4 separate regions of the Homo sapiens genome follow, and regions 2, 3 and 4 are each linked to region 1. The links are contacts of gene promoters, found by promoter capture Hi-C in blood cells and fetal thymus (Javierre and others, 2016). All regions are on one chromosome and are shown on one strand. The core of a region is centred on a gene start or on the middle of the fragment in contact, and the rest is flanking DNA. Distances in the headings are between cores, read along the strand shown. Region 1 holds the start of PPP1R13L (protein phosphatase 1 regulatory subunit 13 like). Region 2 overlaps PPP1R37 (protein phosphatase 1 regulatory subunit 37). Region 3 overlaps QPCTL (glutaminyl-peptide cyclotransferase like). Region 4 overlaps FBXO46 (F-box protein 46).

Region 1 (4,172 bases), core at 94-2,593:
CCCCCATCGTCTGTCCAATATGGTTTGTTGCAACGCCTCCTTAAAGGGGCAGCCACACTGCTCTTCCTAAGCCTTAAAGAGACAGGACGGTCGATTGGTCTGAAATTCTTGAAGAGACAGGTAAGAATACTAGTTAGTAGGGCTGTGCTTTCTGTGTTAAATGTCTTCTGGGGAGGCCCAGATGCCTCACAAGTTCAGAACTTGACTGGGAGAAGCGGGAAAATGGAGAAATAGGGGCAATCCGTCCGGAGGGCGTGAAGTTCCAGCCAGGGGCGGGGCTTCTGGACTCCGGGGGAGCGGGAAACATAGGGGGAGGAGCTTGTGGTTCTCGAGGGCGGAGCCTCGGACCCAGGAGCCCCACACGCGTGGAGTGGTGCTGGGCACGGTGTAGCGTTTGTGGATCAAATGGGACTTGTAGATGCCCTCGGGGGTTTAGTCTCATGCGTGGGAAACCTCGATGACTTTCAGGAAGGGACCTGATCGGCGACTCCTCCCTGCCCCAGGGAGCGTGTAAACAGCGGCACGTGGACACAGATTTGGGGGACGCACCCACTTCCCTTCCCACTGGGGCCGCCCCGCGTTGGGCGGCGGTTGGAGCCGCGAGACGGTGGCTAGACAGGGTGACCCGACTGCATTCCTGGCCAGTGTGTCAGCGCCACTTCCCGCCCCCTCTGCCAAGATTTAGGATCCTACTCCAGAATTGGGGCACCCCTTCTCCCCAGGTGGGAGAGGCTTTCCAGAGCGGAGGGAGGGTCAAGGGGAAGGGGAAATGTTTCCCCTATCCAGGATCTCCAGACGGTTTCCTTCGCGTGGGCGAGAGAGACACCGGGGTGCAGCCCCTGCGGGCTCCAGGACTACAATTCCCACAGGACCCGAGGCAAAGAGTCGCCCGAGGGCGGTCGCGGAGGCTGCTGGGGGTTGTAGTCCAAACTAAGATTTTGAACTCTTGCTGGGACATCCTTTGAAGATCCAACCCGCGCTTTTTATCGACGGGGAGATTCGGGCTCAGAGACCCTGGGGGATACTGATCAGGAAAGGGGATAGTGCGCCTGAAGGGGTGGGGCAAGGGCTCAGGAGTCAGTCTCCAGCCACAGCGAGGCAGGCGTCTCGGCTCTTCTGTATCTCCCTGGCCTGGTCGCTCTCGGCTTCTGGGCCTCGCCCTTCCTGTCTGTGAAATGGACTCTGGGTGAATCCAAATGGGATCGTCTTGGGCTACGTCCTGTCCCTCCGGGACTACAAGTCCCAAGGTGCTCGAGGCGACCTTGGCTCCCCCTCCCCACCGGGACCCGCCTCCCTCCAGCCCAAGTCACGTCGTCTAACCTGTTCCCAGCTCCTGCCCCGCCCCGTTCTCCGCTCCCCAAGCCGGAGCCCGAGCTGGAGGAAGCCCCCAGGTGCCAGGATCTGCCCGGATCCGTGAGTTTCACCCTCCTGGGGACCAGAGGCCCTGAAAAAGCCCAACACCCGCGTCCCTGGGAGGATTGGGAGGGGACTCGGACGCCAGGTCCCAGGGCGGAATTTGGGGCGCGCCGACACCTGGATCCTTAGAAGGAAACTCCGTTGCCTGTTTTACTGGAGGGAAGGAAAGCGGGTTCGGATGCCTGAATTCTTGGAATGGAGGGATTCTACCCCTTCATCCCGGGGAGACGTTGGAGCTGGAATTCCTGAGTCCCTCGAACTGGGGGGCTCTAGGAAGCCGAGTCTTTGGGTAGTATAGGGGTTCGAATCCCCGAGTCTTGGTCAGAAATGAGAGGCTCAGACTGGTGGGGCTCAAGGTGGAATGGGTGACCACCCTGCCAGCCTCAAGCTGCTGTCTCGACCGATCTTCTAGGTCTCTGAGCAGAATTAAGGGTGGGGCAGGGATAGTGGAGCCTGGGTTCCTGAAGTGGAGCAGGACAGGTACCCGGGGTCCCTCCGGAGGCTGTGTCCCGGCTCTCCCCCGACTTTTCGGCTCGGGGATGGGGGCGGGGTAGGAGAGAAAACACCGAGGCAGATCTCCAACCTCCTCTGTGCCGCTGAGCGAACCCAACATGTCATTAACCTGGGCGTCAGACCTGCCTAACCAGAGAAGGGACATCCGCCCTAGGGCACCCCCTGGCGGAGGTGGGCTCCCCTATTGCCTTATGGGGTGGGAAACAGCTGGGTTTGCAGAGGTAGTTCTAGAACCCAGGGCAGAATTCCGGAAAGCGGCTATTGGATTCTGGGAGGTTTGCATAGCCGGGCATTTAACCATTACACGGAGAGGAAGGGGTAAACTGAGGCTTGGAGCTCACACAGGCAGTAGAGTTTGTAGGGTCAGGATTCTGCCTCCTCCTTCTTCTGCAGCTCTCTGGGGGACGGGATTCCATCCGCCCCCGCCAGATTTTCTGACTAACCTTCTGCCTCAGGGCTCCTTGCCCTGACCCTGAGGTGAGAAATGTCACCTCCACGCCCATCTGTCTGACCTGGGGTATTGTGGGAGATAAGGGAGGGACAGAGGCTAATTCTGGAGGTGTCTGTCTGTCCTTGAGGCGGGGGGAGGGCAGGACCAGGCACCTCCCTCTGTCTATCTCCCCGTTCTCTCCACCCCCATGCGTCCTAAGAAGGGGGATTAAAAACAGAATGGGGGAGGCGAGCATCTGATGAGAGAGGAGTGTTTCCCAATGTCTGGGCTTGAAGGGCATTTGATGATAACCTGAAATGAAATTAAAAATAATAACCGTGGTTGCCAAAACAGGGCTCTGGGTGTACCAAGCTCAGAGCTGGTAGGTAGGTAGGTAGGAAAGCTCGCATTGTCTAGAGGAATCTTGGGTGACTGAGAGGTCTCCCTTTGAATAAGGTTTGCTGACCCCAGGGAAGGACTCCTCATTACGAGTGGAGAAACGGAGGCTGGAGAGTGGATATTGCCCACACCCTGGGCTTTTGCCAGCTTCTGTCTGGAATCTTCCAGGGCTCTCCCAGCCCTCCCGTCCCTAAGTGACTGAGGGTGATCACTGGCCAGACTCAGGAATGTACAGGGGAAATTTAGGACTCTGAGAGGCAAGGGCTCAGGAAGTTGAGACCCTGGGTGTCAAAACTCAGGGCTTGTATGATCTCAGAAAGAGTTGAAAGGGCCCTTTTAGGGGAAAAAAAAATTACATTGAGTCTGGACCCCTCACTCTGTTGCCAGACCCTGTGTTATTATAATGAACAGCCAAGGACATCTGGTAATTATGAATCCTGTATGTGTGAACTTTATTTCGCGCACTGCATTGTTCTAATCACGGCTTATAAATTATGTCACTCAATCCTCATACCCCTTTGAGGCGAAGGTATTAATTCTTCCCATGGTCCACATGAGGAAACAGGCACAGAGAAGCTAAATAACAAGCCCAAGTAGAGGCTTAGAGCAAGAAAGGCCCTAGCCCATTCCATAGACGTCCACAAAGGAGGAAACCGAGTCCCAGAGACAGTGGAGCCTCTCCAGATTCAGTGTGACCCGACAGGGCTGTAGGAGTCCAGCCTGGGTGTTCCCAGCTCAGTCTGGCTCTCTGACCCGGTTCCTACTGAAGATGACTCCTCCAGGAAGTCCACAGGATCCTTAGCCCTAAAGAACCTGGCTGGGGTGCAGAGGAGGCCAGGGAAGGAGAGCCAGGGGTGGAGCGGAGAGAGGAGCCCAGGGGAGAGTACCTGCGGCTGGCCCAGAGCCCGCGGGAGAGCTCGGAGCTAGAGCTAGAGGGGAGCACATGGGAGAGGACTCGGAGGCAGAGGTCAGGGGCAGAGGCCTGGGAACAGACACACGGCCCGCGCCACCCCCGCGCCCCGCCCTTGTACCCCGCCCGGCCCAGCTCCCTTGCCCCGGGATGTACAGCACCTGCCCGGGCCCGCTGCGCATTCCCCGGGCCTGAGCTCAGGCGCAGTCCGCCCTCCTGGCGGGGGTCCGGGCGTGACCGCCCCCTGGTGGCTCCGACGTCCCCACCGCCTGTCCCCGCGACAGCCCCACACCCAGGGTTGGCATTTCCTGAGAGCCAGAGAATGTCAGTATGGAATCTGAGAATCTTGGAAATTTGGGGATCATGGCGCCGTGGCTCACGCCTGTAATCCCAATACTTTGGGAGATCGAGCCGGGGAGGATCCCATGAGGCTAGGAGTTCGAGACCAGCCTAACCACAGGCGCGAGAGAGACTAAATCTCTACCAAAAGAAAAAAAAAGAGTC
Region 2 (4,696 bases), core at 297-2,796, 290 kb after region 1:
AAGAAAAGAAAAACCAAGACCCAGGAATTTCCTCACAATACCATGTTTATGAAACTCAAAAACAGGCAGAACGAAACACCATGCTTTTCAGCATGCAGACATGGTTGATAAAACTTTTAAAAAGGCCACCTGATGACCCTTTCCCTTTTTATTGAACCTGACACACCTGTCCCTCACCCATCCACCCCCGCCCCCCGCAAAAAATAAAAAACACAGAATGACAATGACAACAGTCAGGACAGTGGGCTCCCTCCACCCACCCACAGGCAGAGGTGAGTTAATGGCAATGTTCTCACTCTGAAATTAGGAGGGAGGCTCACAGGTCTTCAACATATTACACTTCAACAACTTACATGTACATTACATACATATTCCATATGCCAAGAAGATAAATGGGCTGGGCAAGGTGGCCCATGCCTGTAATCCCAGTACTTTGGGAGATCGAGGCAGGCGGATCACCTGAGGTCGGGATTCGAGACCAGCCTGGCCAACAAGGCAAAACCTTGTCTCTACTAAAAAAATACAAAAGTTAGCTGGGTGTGGTGGTGCGCACTTGTAATCCCAGCTACTCAGGAGGCTGTGGCTGGAGAATTGCTTGAACCCGGGAGGCAGAAGTTGTGGTGAGCCGAGATTGCACCACTGCACTCCAGCCTGGGTGACAGAGTAAGACTCTGTCTCAATTAAAAATAATAATAATAATAATAATAATAATTAAAAAGCAGAAGGGAGGGAGAAGAGTGTTGCAACAGACAGAACAGCATGTGCAAAGGCTCAGAGGAGACAGAGCTCTTGGAGCCTTGGGGAACTGAAGATCACTGTCAGGGTCAAATGAGCATACAGGCAAGACAATCCGGCAGAGGACTCAGCAGAGCTGGGGGCACCGAGGTGCTTGACAAGGGTTTGCTGAGTCATTTAGTGGCTCAATGCTTCCTAGCACTGCCACCCACCCAAGTCCTCAGTAGGTGACAGGGCCAGGCTCGGGAAAGGGGGCCTCTGAGGAAAGCCCAGCACTCATCGGTAGACATTCAGTCCTGCCAGAACCAGGCAGGCTATTTCGGGCCACCTGCCTCAGGCTTCTGGTCATGGGTACCAGATGGCCATCTGAATTCAGAAGCTTTGGGAGTGCTTTAGATTGGAATTTTAGAAACTGTAAGCTGTTTACTGGTCCAGCAAAGGCTCCAGTGATGGAAACCAGGTGCTTGGAATTTCTTACTGCCCACCCTCACCTTCCTCCTTCATAACAAGAGGGTAATGCCACCAACCCTCAGAGGTCTGTTTGGGAACTAATGAACATATTTTCATTCATTCATTCTTTATGCAACAACCTGGGCTAGGCAGACAGCCGTGAACAAAACAGGGCTGGTCCCTGCCCTCAAGGACTGGGAGGAAGGCAAACAAATCACCCAAAAATTTACCAGTTATAAGAAGAAAATGCATATTATAGGGGAAAACACAGGGGATACAAATTCAGATTTGGAGGAATAGTTAGAAAAGACCCATAAGAGAAAAGAACATTTCGACTGAGACCTAAAAGATGAGTAAAAGTAAGAAATGTGGCCAGGTGCAATGGCTCATGGCTGTAATCCCAGCACTCTCGGAGGCCAAGGCAGGAGGATCACTTGAGCCCAGGAATTTAAGACTAGCCTGGGCAACACAGGGAAACCCCGTCTCTACAAAAAATCCAAAAATTAGCCAGGTGTAGTGGTACGTGCCTGTGGTCCCAGCTACTCAGAAGGCTGAGGCGGGAGGATCACCTGGGCCCAGGAGATCTAGACTGCAGTGAGCCATGACCACGCCACAGCACTGCAACCTGGGAGACAGAGCAAGACTCTGTCTCAACAAAAAAAAAAAAAAGAAAAAGGGAATTCATTAATTCCTTCAAATATTTATTGTTGTCTATTCTATGCCAGGCACTATTCTAGGTGCCAGGCTACACTGGTGAACAAAAAAGCCAGACATCCCATCTCAAGAAGCTTACACTGGATGGGGACAGGAGGCCATAAGCCAACAGGAGCCACACAAAAGTCCAGGCCATCCTTCCAGACAGAGGGAAGAGTCGGTTCTGAGGACCCTCCAACAGGGCAGAGGGGGAGCAGAGCTGAGGCTGCAGATGCAGGTGGGCGACAGATCCTCAGGGCAAAGAACAGTATTCCTGAAGAGTCAGGAAGCTACTGGAAGGAAACAGCACATGACATACAGGACCCTCATACAGAGGGTGCTGATGACGTGGTGGCCATGGCTGTGGGAGACGAGGGAGTCCAGGCTCCTGCTGAAACTTGAGGCTCCTGGGACTTGCTGAGCCTCCATAGCTGTGGTGGGCTGGATGTGTCCAGGGACCCAGGCAGGGCTGCCCTGGCTTCTGCCATCTTCAGCAAGTGACCAATGACCCCAAGTAGCAGTTTCTTATCTGCAAAAATGTGGGGCACCAGCAGGTTCACCGAGTCACTCAGCCTGGTGCTCAGCAAATGGGGCTGGAGTTGTGGTTACAGTGGACCCTCTGTAACCTGCTAACCCTTTTCCCAGGCCGGGCCTCCACTAAAGCACCCTCTCTCCTACACTGCAGGGCCTCCAAGGCCTGGGCTGCCACTGCCTCCTCTGCCCTCTCTGAGGGCCCCAGCCCTGTGTTTCTCCATCCCAAGCTGTTCACACTGAGATGGGGCTTTGCTATGATGACTCGGTGAAATAGCAGAGGAGAAAGTGCTTCTCTTTAGTGTCCTGCACCCCTGTCCCCCACCTTTCCTGCAAGGCAAATGATAAATGAGGACAAATATATCTGCACAATAAAATTACATCTATCTTCAATAGAGGAGTCCTTATAAAGGTCCCAAAATAAAAATAGGCAAAGGGCATGAAGAACCAATTCCCAGAACCATGTAACATGTTAACAATAAACAGGTTAGGTCGGGCGCAGTGGCTCATGCCTGTAATCCCAGCACTTTGGGAGGCCAAGACAGGAGGATCACTTGAGGCCAGGAGTTCGAGACCATCCTGGGCAACATAGCGAGACCTCATCTCTACAAAAAACAAAAAAGACCAGGCACGGTAGTTCACGCCTGTCATCCCAGACTTTGGGAGGCCAAGGCGCGTGGATCACCTGAGGTCGGGAGTTACAGACCAGCCTGACCAACATGGAGAAATCCTGTCTCTACAAAACATACAAAATTAGCCGGGTGTGGTGGTGCATGCCTGTAATCCCAGCTACTCGGGAGGCTGTGGCAGGAGAATCGCTTGAACCTGGGAGGCGGAAGTTGTGATGACCTGAGATCGCGCCATTGCACTCCAGCCTGGGCAACAAGAGTGAAACTCCATTAAAAAAAAAAAAAAACCCACAAAAATACAAAACAAACAAACAAAACCGAAGTTAACTAGTAGTCAAAAGAACGCTCGCTAAAACAAGACACCATCTTAACATCAAGGCACCCACATGCAAATACTATTCATTCAATCATTAAAAAAAAAATCTGGTCAGGTGCAGTGACTCACGCCTGCAATTCCAGCACTTTGGGATGCTGAGGCAGGCAGATCACCTGAGATCAGGAGTTTGAGACCAGCCTGGCCAACAGTGAAACCCCGTCTCTACTAAAAATACGAAAATTAGCCGGGCGTGGTGGTGCGCGCCTATAATCCCAGCTACTCGGGAGGCTAAGGCAGGAGAATGGCTTGAGCCTAGGAGGTGGAGTTTGCAGTCAGCCAAGATCACGCCACTGCACTCCAGCTTGAGGGACAGATCGAGACCCTGTCTCTGGCCATGGTTTAAACCTCAAAAGCAGAAAAAAAGAGAGAGACCCTCTCTCAGAAAAAAATCTAAAGCTACAGTGGTGACTATGACGACAGAACCCTAGCCCTCAACACTCACTGTCCAATGTGGGCACAGCCAGTATCTGAGACTTCCAATGTTCCTTCCCTTTGACCTGGTAAAATCACCTTCTAAGAATTTTTTCTAAGAAGGCTACCCGTGTGATGAGCATGAAGATTTATGGACAAGGACGAACATCACTGCATTATCTATGCAACTGAAAACTGGAAAGGACCTAAACGCTCAGCAATGCGGAAATGGCTAGAATGAATTACAACAGCCCAGTGATGTACTTTAAATCATGCTTTCTAAAAAAACGGAAAAATGAAGTGCAGAAGCAGGATATTCAACTGTATCTACAGTATCCTCACAGCTTTATTTTTATCTAGCGGTGGCTGTGAATCTAGCCAGAGAGAAGAGACGGGAAGGAAATGCACTGGCATTACACGCTGAAAACATCCCAGGTGGTGCAAATCGCTCAGCTGAGAAGTCCTGCATCCGGGATACACGTATATAGAACTCTCACAACTCAATAATGAAGGGACAAACAATTCATTTACTTATTTTTTATTTATTTTTGAGACAGAGTCTCACCTAGGCTGGAGTCCAATGGCAAGACCACAGCTCATTGCAGCCTCGACCTCCTGGGCTCAAGCAATCCTCCCACATTAGCCTCCCAGGTAGCTGGGACTACAGGCATGAGCCACCAGGCTTGGTTAATTTTTTACATTTTTTTATAGAGATGGGGTCTCACCATGTCGTCCAGGCTGGTCTCGAACTCCTGGGCTCAAATGATCTGCCCACCTTGGCTTCCCAAAGTGCTGGGATTACAATTGTGAGCCACTGCGCCTGGCTCCCCTTTTTTTTAATAGAGACTGGGTCTTGCTATGTTGCCCAGGC
Region 3 (4,146 bases), core at 1,035-3,534, 290 kb before region 1:
AACCTCCACCCCCTACCTCCCAGGTTCAAGAGATTCTCCTGCCTCAGCCTCCCATACAGCTGTGACCACAGGTTCCCGCTATCATGCCTGGCTAATTTTTGTATTTTTAGTAGAGACAAGCTTTCACCATGTTGGCCAGGCTGGTCTCGAACTCCTGACCTCAAATGATCCACCTACCTCAGCCTCCCAAAGTGCTGGGATTACAGATGTGAGCCACCGCGCCCGGCAATAACAGTTCTTTTCAAAGGGTAAGGTTTGAATCCAGGTCTTAGAACAGTGCCTGGCATATAACTAAATAAGGGTTATCTCTGATTATTATTCCTCAAGCTCAGTTTGGTGAACCAGATAGATCCACAAATGAATAATTATACAAACAGTGAAATGCAGTTGAGACAAATGCTTCTAAGAACTATAGAGTCCTGAGAGGGCATAGGAAGGAGGCTGGGGGATGACCTGGCCTGGAGAGGGCGTTGGGTCTTTTGGGAAGGGATGTTTGCCATGAGAATGGGTAGGAACTGGCCTGGCAAAATGGAGCAGGAGGAAGAGTATTCCCAGCCAAGGGAGCAACACAGGGCAAGGCTATGGCCAGGGAAGGGGTCCCAGAGGTTTGAGAGGGGTACGGAAGGTTTAGCAAGGGCCAAGGAGTGTGGGCTTTGTTATAGGGACACTGGGGAGGCACAGAGAGGGGTTAAGCAGGGCAGGAGCATGATTAAATCTGTGTTTTTCTTTTCTTTTCTTTTTTTTCTTTCTTTTTTTTTTTTTTGAGACGGAGTCTCGCTGTATCGCCCAGGCTGGCGTACAGTGGCGCGATCTCGGCTCACTGCAAACTCTGCCTCCCGAGTTCACGCCATTCTCCTGCCTCAGCCTCCCAAGTAGCTGGGACTACAGGCGCCCGCCACCACGCCCAGCTAACTTTTTGTATTTTTAGTAGAGACGGGGTTTCACTGTGTTAGCCAGGATGGTCTCAATCTCCTGACCTCACGATCCACCTGCCTTGGCCTCCCAAAGTGCTGGGATTACAGGTGTGAGCCACCGCACCTGGCCTGTGTTTTTCTTTTCTGTTTGTTTTGAGACAGAATCTCGCTCTGTCATCCAGGCTGGAGTGCAGTGGTGCGATCTCGGCTCACTGCAACCTCCGCCTCTCAGTTTCAAGTGATCCTCCTGTCTCAACCTCCCAAGTAGTAGGATTACAGGTATGTACCACCATACCCAGCTAATTTTTGTATTTTTAGTAGAGATGAGGTTTCCCTGTTGGACAAGCTGGGCTCGAACTTCTGACCTCAAATGATCTGCCTGCCTCGGCCTCCCAAAGTGCTGGGATTACAGGTGCGAGTTACCACGCCCGGCCGGGAAGGCCTCTTTGAAGGGGTGACATTGGAGTGGACACCTGAGTGAAGAGTGGGAGCCAGCCAGGAAGATATCTATGAAAAGCATATTCTTTTTTTTTTTTTTAAGAGACAAGGTCTCTGTCACCCAGGCTAGAATACAGTGGCACGATCATGGCTCACTGCAGTCTCAAACTCCTAGACTCAAGCCATCCTCCCCTCTCAGCCTCCCAAGTAGCATGCCACTACTCCCAGATAATTTTTTTTTTTTTTTGAGATGGAGTCTCGCTCTGTTGCCCAGGCTGGAGTGCAGTGGTGCAACTTTGGCTCACTGCAACCTCCGCCTCCCGGGTTCAAGCAATTCTCTGCTTCAGCCTCCCGAGTAGCTGGGGTTACAGGTGTGCACCACCAAGCCTGGCTAATTTTTGTGTTTTTGGTAGAGATGGGGTTTCATCATGTTGGCCAGGCTGGTCTTGAACTCCTGACCTTGTGATCCACCCACCTCAACCTCCCAAAGTGCTGGGATTCCAAGTGTGAGCCACGGAGCCTGGCCAGAAAAGCACATTCTATCCAAAGCAAACAGCAAGTGCAGATGCCCTGAGGTGGGAGCAAGCTCTGCGGGTTTGAGGAACCCAGAGGAGGTGGGGGTGGCTACAGCAGAGTGAGCAAGAGGTGAGGGGTGGGAGATGAGGCTGGAGAGGTAACAGGGCACAGCTCGTGGGCCAATATAAGGACTCTGGATTATGGCTGGAATGAGGCGGGAGCCCTGGGAGGGTTTGGGGGAGAGGAAAGAGAATCTGACATCTAGAAGGTAAAAAGATCCCTGTGATGACCAGGCGCGGTGGCTCACGCCTGTAATCCCAGCACTTTGAGAGGCCGAGGTGGGCAGATCACCTGAGGTTGGGAGGAGAATTGCTTGAACCCAGTAGGCAGAGGTTGCGGGGAGCCAAGATCTCGCCATGTGCACTCCATCCTGGGGAACAAGAGCGAAACTCCGTCTCAAAAAAAAAAAAAAGATCCCTGTGGCTCTGTGCGTGGAGTAGAGTGGGAAGACGAGAGGGATGACAAATGTCCAGGCAAGGGAGGGTGGGGGCTTGGGAAAAGGTGGAGGTAGCCCACTACCCTCCCCGACTCCTGCTCCTCACCTGTTTTTTGGCCCTGCTCAGCTCCAGGTCAAGTGCTTGGGCCAGCTCCAGCAGCAGGGCACAGGGCACAGCCGAATCCGTGGCCCCTACAAAGGGGGTCGATCCGGGTGGGAAGAGCTTCGAGTCATAATGGCAGGCAAGGGTGAGGTGACGGGCAGCCCTTGGGTCCAGTGTGGCCACCACATTGCCAAAGTCCACTGGCCCCAGGGGTGTTGAGGCTGTGAAGGGATCCAGCTCCACGTGCCAACCTGCTGTCAGGGACCGCAGCGTGGCCTCCAGGAACTAGCGGCAAGAGAGAGGTGGGAGGGTGGACGGGGACTGGGGAGGAGGTGGGGAGAAGGGCCACGTGACCTGAGCCATGCAGAGCAGATGGGTTGACACTAAAGCCCCACTCTGATTGAATGGATTTCTTTCTTTCTTTCTTTTTTTTTTTGAGATGGAGTCTTGCTCTGTCACCCAGGCTGGAGTGCAGTGGCTTGATCTTGGCTCACTGCAACCTCTGCCTCCTGGCTTCAAGTGATTCTCCTGACTCAGCCTCCTGAGTAGCTGGGGTTACAGGCGCCCCCTACAACGCCTGGCTATTTTTTGTATTTTTAGTAGAGATGGGGTTTCACAATGTTGGCCAGCCTGGTATTCGAACTCCTGACCTCAAGTGATCTGCCTGCTTCAGCATCCCAAAGTGTTGGGATTACAGATGTGAGCCACTGTGCCCAGCCCCCTACTCTGATTAAAATCATTCCCTTGACAGTGCTGGTGAGTACCTACTGGGTGCCAGATGTTGGGGAGACCCCACCTCTTGAAGCCAGCAAGACTCATCACAGCTTACCCTTAAATAGCTCTCACTGTGTGCTAAGCCCTCTTCTAGGAACCATTTAGGGGAGGGACTGCCAATACATGACCCCATTTTACAGATGAGGAAATGGGCTCAGAGAGGTTAAGAAACTAGTCCAGGCCGGGCGCGGTGGCTCACGCCTGTAATCCCAGCACTTTGGGAGGCTGAGGTGGGCGGATCATAAGGTCAGGAGTTTGAGACCAGCCTGGCCAATATGGTGAAACCCCGTCTCACTAAAAATACAAAAAATTAGCCAGGCATGGTGGTGCACACCTGTAATCCCAGCTACTCAGGAGGCTGAAGCATGAGATTTGCTTGAACCTGGGAGGTGGAGGTTGCAGTGAGCCGAGATCGCGCCACTGCACTCCAACCCAGGCGACAGTGTGAGACTCCATCTCAAAATAAAATAAAATAAAATAAAATAAAAAAGAAACCAGTCCAAGGTCACAATCTAAGTGGATGAGGTAGCATTGGGACTCAGGCAGTATTTAAGTGACTTTTTTTTTTTGAGATGGAGTCTCGCTCTGTCACCCATGCTGGGGTGCAGTGGCGCAATCTCAGCTCACTGCAGTCTCCGCCTCCTGGGTTCAAGTGATTCTCGTGCCTCAGCCTCCCAAGTAGCTGGGACTACGGGTACCCACCACCACGCCTGGCTAATTTTGTATTTTTAGTAGAGATGAGGTTTCACCATGTTGGCCAGGCTGGTCTCAAACTCCTGATCTCGAGGGATCTGCCTGTCTCGGCCTCCCAAAGTGCTGGGATTAGAGGTGTGAACCACTGCGCCTGGCCTTTAAATGACTCTTCATGCTTTCTGGAAGACAACAGATACATTACAGCACCAGCT
Region 4 (4,565 bases), core at 237-2,736, 310 kb before region 1:
CCTGCAGCCTGGAACTCCTCCTAGGCTCTAGAACAGGCCCTCTTACTCCGCGGGTCCACGGCTGTGCTTTAGGGAATCCCCTGTACTGTCTTTGCAAGGGTGTGCATTTTTCTGACTGAGGACACACAGCTTTAATAAATTCTCATTAAGCCCCACTACCTGAAAAAAAAAAAGAAAAGCCGATTTCTTAAGTGCTTGTCTGAATCTGACCTCAGATTTTCATCCCCATCCCAGCGCATTTCGTTCCTCTCTCTGTGGGTTTAAGCAGCCATAGCTGTGGGTGGGGCTGGGAATTTCTGTCTTTTCAGGAACGAGCTACTGAGTGAGCAAATAGAAAAAGGACCTTGTCTGTCAGTGGTCCTTTCACTTAAGTGTAAAAGTTATGGCAGTTTAAAGGCCTCTGGATTGTGGGCAAAGGCAGTTGGACAGTGGGGTAGGACCTATGGGGTTGGTGCGTGCTGCCAGTTAGGGTCCCGCTCTGCAAGTTAAAAGGGCATCTCTCATCCCCTCTGCAACCTCTGTCTGCTCACCTGAGCATGGCAGTGGGAATAGAGTTCTTTTTTTTTTTTTTTTTTTTTTTGAGACGGAGTTTCGCTCTTGTCGCCCAGGCTGGAGTGTAATGGTGCCATCTGGTCTCGCTGCAACCTCCACCTCCCAGGTTCAAGCGATTCTCGTGCCTCAGCCTCCCAAGTAGCTTGGATTACAGGCGTGGACTATCACGCCCAGCACATTTTTGTATTTTTAGTAGAGATGGGGTATCACCATGTTGGCCAGGCTGGTCTCAAACTCCTGACCTCAGGTGATCTGCCCACCTCAGCCTCCCAAAGTGCTGGGATTACAGGCGTGAGCCACCGCGCCCAGCCAGGAATAGAGTTCTTGATGGTCTGGTTTGGTCTAAGGAGAGGTGGAGGTTGGGGTGGTCCTGGGAAGAAAGGCTGTCCCCCTAGCTCCCCAACCTCCTCTTCGTGTCTCCAGGTGGCATGTGGAGCCTCCCACCACCACCTAGGTCCTGAGATGCGCTGAAGCCCAGCCTGTCTGCCATCATCCCCCAGCATGGACCGTGGGAGCCTCCTGCCCTTCCAGCTATGGTGCCCCCGGCCCTTTGGCACCTACTCACAGAACCAGCCACGCCCGCCTTCTGCGGCCCTCAAGCCATCAGCCTGCCCTGAGCCTGGTGGCGGGGCCGAGCCAGACCATGGGCCTGCCCACTCAGAGAACACACCACCCGCCTTGGCCACTGAGGTCCCTGCCTCCCAGCCGGCTCCGCTCCTCTCAGCAGCAGCTGCTGGTGATGAGGGTCGAGTCCTCCTGGACACGTGGTATGTCATCAAGCCCGGGAATACAAAGGAGAAGGTGGCCTTCTTTGTGGCCCACCAGTGTGGTGGGGGCAGCCGGGCCAGCTCCATGAAGGTCAAGGGGCACTGGGGCAGCGATAGCTCCAAGGCCAAGCGGCGGAGGCGCTGTCTTGACCCCACCAAGGCTCCTCCTGACCCAGGGGGCCGGGAGGGCCCCCCTGCTGCTGAGGAGGGCCCCGCCTCAGCCGGTGAGGACGTGGACCTGCTCTCTGTGGCCGAGATGGTGGCCCTGGTGGAACAGCGGGCAGCCCTGGCCCTGCAGAGCTACCCACGACCGACCACCCCAGCGCCTGTAGTCTTTGTGTCCGCCGAGCAAGGTGGACCGGCCAAGGGGGTGGGATCTGAACGGCGGTCCGGTGGTGGGGACTGCAGCCGTGTAGCCGAGGCCGTGGCCCACTTTGAAGCGCAGAGGGACAGCCCTCCCACCAAGGGCCTCCGCAAGGAAGAGCGGCCCGGGCCAGGCCCTGGGGAGGTGCGCATCGCCTTCCGCATCTCCAACGGCCGGGAGCCCCGTGCACCAGACAGCGGCCTGCCCAGTGGGGGCGGGGGCAGGCCTGGTTGTGCCTACCCTGGCAGCCCAGGTCCTGGGGCCCGAGCCAAGGACAAGATCACATGTGACTTATACCAGCTCATCAGCCCCTCGCGGGATGCCCTCCCCAGCAACGTGGAGTTCCTGCTGGCCAGGGCGGATGAGGCCAGTGAGGGTGACAGCCCGGCACCCGCCAGGCCTGAGGACACTCCCCCGGCGCCCCCTCCGCCCCCTGCCCGGGACTGCGGAGCGTCAGGCTTCCACGTGGACGTGGTGGTGACGGGCGTGGTAGATGAGTGCATCTTCTTTGGCAAGGACGGCACCAAGAACGTGAAGGAGGAGACTGTGTGCCTGACGGTCAGCCCGGAGGAACCGCCGCCTCCGGGCCAGCTCTTCTTTCTCCAGAACCGCGGGCCGGACGGGCCCCCGGAGCCACCCCCGGCCGACTCCCCGGCCACTGCGCCCGGCCCAGACGATGCCGAGGGCACGGCGGACACCTCCCTGTGCCGCTTGTACCGGCACGTGTCGCACGACTTCCTAGAGATCCGCTTCAAGATTCAGCGGCTGCTGGAGCCGCGACAGTACATGCTGCTGCTGCCCGAGCACGTGCTGGTCAAGATCTTCAGCTTCCTGCCCACGCGCGCGCTGGCCGCCCTCAAGTGCACCTGCCACCACTTCAAGGGCATCATCGAGGCGTTTGGCGTGCGGGCCACAGACTCGCGCTGGAGCCGAGACCCGCTCTACCGCGATGATCCGTGCAAACAGTGCCGCAAGAGATACGAGAAGGGCGACGTGTCGCTCTGCCGCTGGCACCCCAAGCCCTACCACCATGACCTGCCTTACGGACGTTCCTACTGGATGTGCTGCCGTCGAGCCGACCGCGAGACTCCCGGCTGCCGCCTGGGCCTCCACGATAACAACTGGGTGCTGCCCTGCAATGGGCCAGGCGGGGGCCGGGCCGGCCGGGAGGAGGGGAGGTGAAGCCGGGGGAGGGGAGGGGAGAGCCCACCACGCCCACCCCTCCCCTCTCCCCCCGGGAGCCGAGGGTCCGGACTGGGCCGCCTGCCCATTCCCCTACTCCAGGCAGCATTGATCCCTCACCGGAACTGAGCTGGGGTTCAGCAGGGGTGACCCAGGAAAGCCCTCTGCTTGATCCTGTTGATTTTCTACTCTTCAGAACCAGGGCCGTGGACCCTCTGAGAAGGGTGTTTTTTTTTTTTTTATCAGCATCTCACTTTCTTCTCCATTCAGCCCCAACCCCCTCCCTGCCATGCTTTCCACCCCAAGGACCCACCAGCAGGGAGCAGACGGCAGCTAATTTTGGTACCACTTAAGGGTCCCCCCATTCTGGCCCCCATCCTCTCCCTCACCCCAATTCTTTCTCGCTGGAGCTGTTATTTCCCAAGAAGCCGCATCGCCCAAGGTTGGCACCTCTCCTAACCTGCCACACGACAGCTCTCACCTCTCTAGGAATTGGGGGCTGTCAGGTCACAGGTGGGATCTGGCATTTTTTTATGACAGTCCATTTCTAGATGGTTTGCCTATTAAAGAAGTGGGGGGGAAATACTGTTTTCTCCTTAACCTCAAGCTACCAGTCTCTCCTCTTCCGCGTAGAGGAAGAGGGGGGCAGACAAAAAAAAAGCTGAAGTATAAAAACCCTCCTCCTCCCGTTATTATTTAAGCTACTGCCATCAACCCCACCCCCATAAAGCTGTGAAGCCCTTTGCCTCGCTTTTGACAGCGTGGGGGGGCCCCGTGGGCAGGGACTTCGGATTTGCATTTCTGGGTTGTTTTTCCTTCCACTCTGGGGTCTCGTTCAGGCATTGGGGTCTCCTCACCCCAGCCACATGTTTCTTTAAGAATCCTTTGGTCAACCAGGACCTTGATTTTTCAGGCATTTTGGTCTGGGGTATTTTTGTTTGTTCTCTCTGTTTTTTGTTTTCTTTTTTTTCTTTCCATCGTGGTTCTGGAAGCTTCTAGCGTGTGGCATCTGACCAATTTTGAATTGGTCCTTTCTATAAAATCAATATTTATAAGGCTGTGTGCAGACTGGTTTGTGTGTTGTGAAGGGAGGGTTTGGGAAGAGAGGGGAGTTGTAGGCCTGTGTATGGGGGATGGAAAAAGTGGAAAGAGAAGGGATCCCTAGCCAAGTCCCTTAGCCTGAGATTATTTTTTACTCTTCTCATCTGTGTCAATTTGGATTTGAAAAATCTCAAAATAGTAGTAGCTTGAACAAGATTTTTTTTTTTTTTTTTTTCCCTTAGAGACAGGGTCTCTCTCTGTCACCCAGGCTGGAGTGCAGTGGTATGATCACAGCTCACTGCAGCAACCTCCTGGGCTCAAGGAAACCTCCCACCTCAACCTGCCAAGCAGCTGGGTTTTCTACAGGTGTACGCCACATACCCAGCTAATTTTTAAATTTTTTTTTTTTTTTTTTTTGAGTCGGAGTCTCACTCTGTCGCCCAGGCTGGAGTGCAGTGGCGGGATCTCGGCTCACTGCAAGCTCTGCCTCCCGGGTTCACGCCATTCTCCTGCCTCAGCCTCCCAAGTAGCTGGGACTACAGGCGCCCGCCACTACGCCCGGCTAATTTTTTGTATTTTTAGTAGAGACGGGGTTTCACCGTTTTAGCCGGGATGGTCTCGATCTCCTGACCTCGTGATCCGCCCGCCTCGGCCTCCCA

Evidence for each region. The method cuts DNA at HindIII sites, captures the fragments that hold promoters and counts their contacts. A CHiCAGO score of 5 or more calls a contact.
Region 2: a contact is called between a fragment that was not itself captured here and the fragment with the promoter of PPP1R13L in region 1, in 1 of 17 cell types (M1 macrophages). The highest score is 5.1, in M1 macrophages.
Region 3: a contact is called between a fragment that was not itself captured here and the fragment with the promoter of PPP1R13L in region 1, in 4 of 17 cell types (naive CD4 T cells, total CD8 T cells, naive B cells and 1 more). The highest score is 5.9, in naive CD4 T cells.
Region 4: a fragment that was not itself captured here is called in contact with the fragment with the promoter of PPP1R13L in region 1 in 3 of 17 cell types (naive CD4 T cells, monocytes and activated CD4 T cells); the score reaches 6.0 in naive CD4 T cells.

Annotation. Positions count from the first base shown.
Region 1 is chr19:45,402,240-45,406,411 of GRCh38, reverse strand. PPP1R13L (protein phosphatase 1 regulatory subunit 13 like) reads left to right here and starts at 1,343. Exons shown (of 13, transcript NM_006663.4): 1 at 1,343-1,413. RefSeq lists enhancers at 492-691, 662-1,457 and silencers at 3,617-3,706, 3,747-3,996. The HindIII fragment of the contact is 7,528 bases long and covers 1-4,172 here.
Region 2 is chr19:45,107,275-45,111,970 of GRCh38, reverse strand. All of the region lies in intron 1 of PPP1R37 (protein phosphatase 1 regulatory subunit 37), which reads right to left. Among named protein-coding and RNA genes, the nearest start is that of PPP1R37, 16 kb to the right of the region's middle. The HindIII fragment of the contact is 859 bases long and covers 1,117-1,975 here.
Region 3 is chr19:45,694,043-45,698,188 of GRCh38, reverse strand. It overlaps QPCTL (glutaminyl-peptide cyclotransferase like), which reads right to left. Exons shown (of 7, transcript NM_017659.4): 3 at 2,471-2,752. Among named protein-coding and RNA genes, the nearest start is that of QPCTL, 3.4 kb to the right of the region's middle. The HindIII fragment of the contact is 4,323 bases long and covers 123-4,146 here.
Region 4 is chr19:45,709,984-45,714,548 of GRCh38, reverse strand. FBXO46 (F-box protein 46) reads left to right here. Exons shown (of 2, transcript NM_001080469.2): 2 at 976-3,920. The coding sequence starts at 1,054. The coding sequence ends at 2,865. Among named protein-coding and RNA genes, the nearest start is that of FBXO46, 19 kb to the left of the region's middle. The HindIII fragment of the contact is 4,746 bases long and covers 1-3,859 here.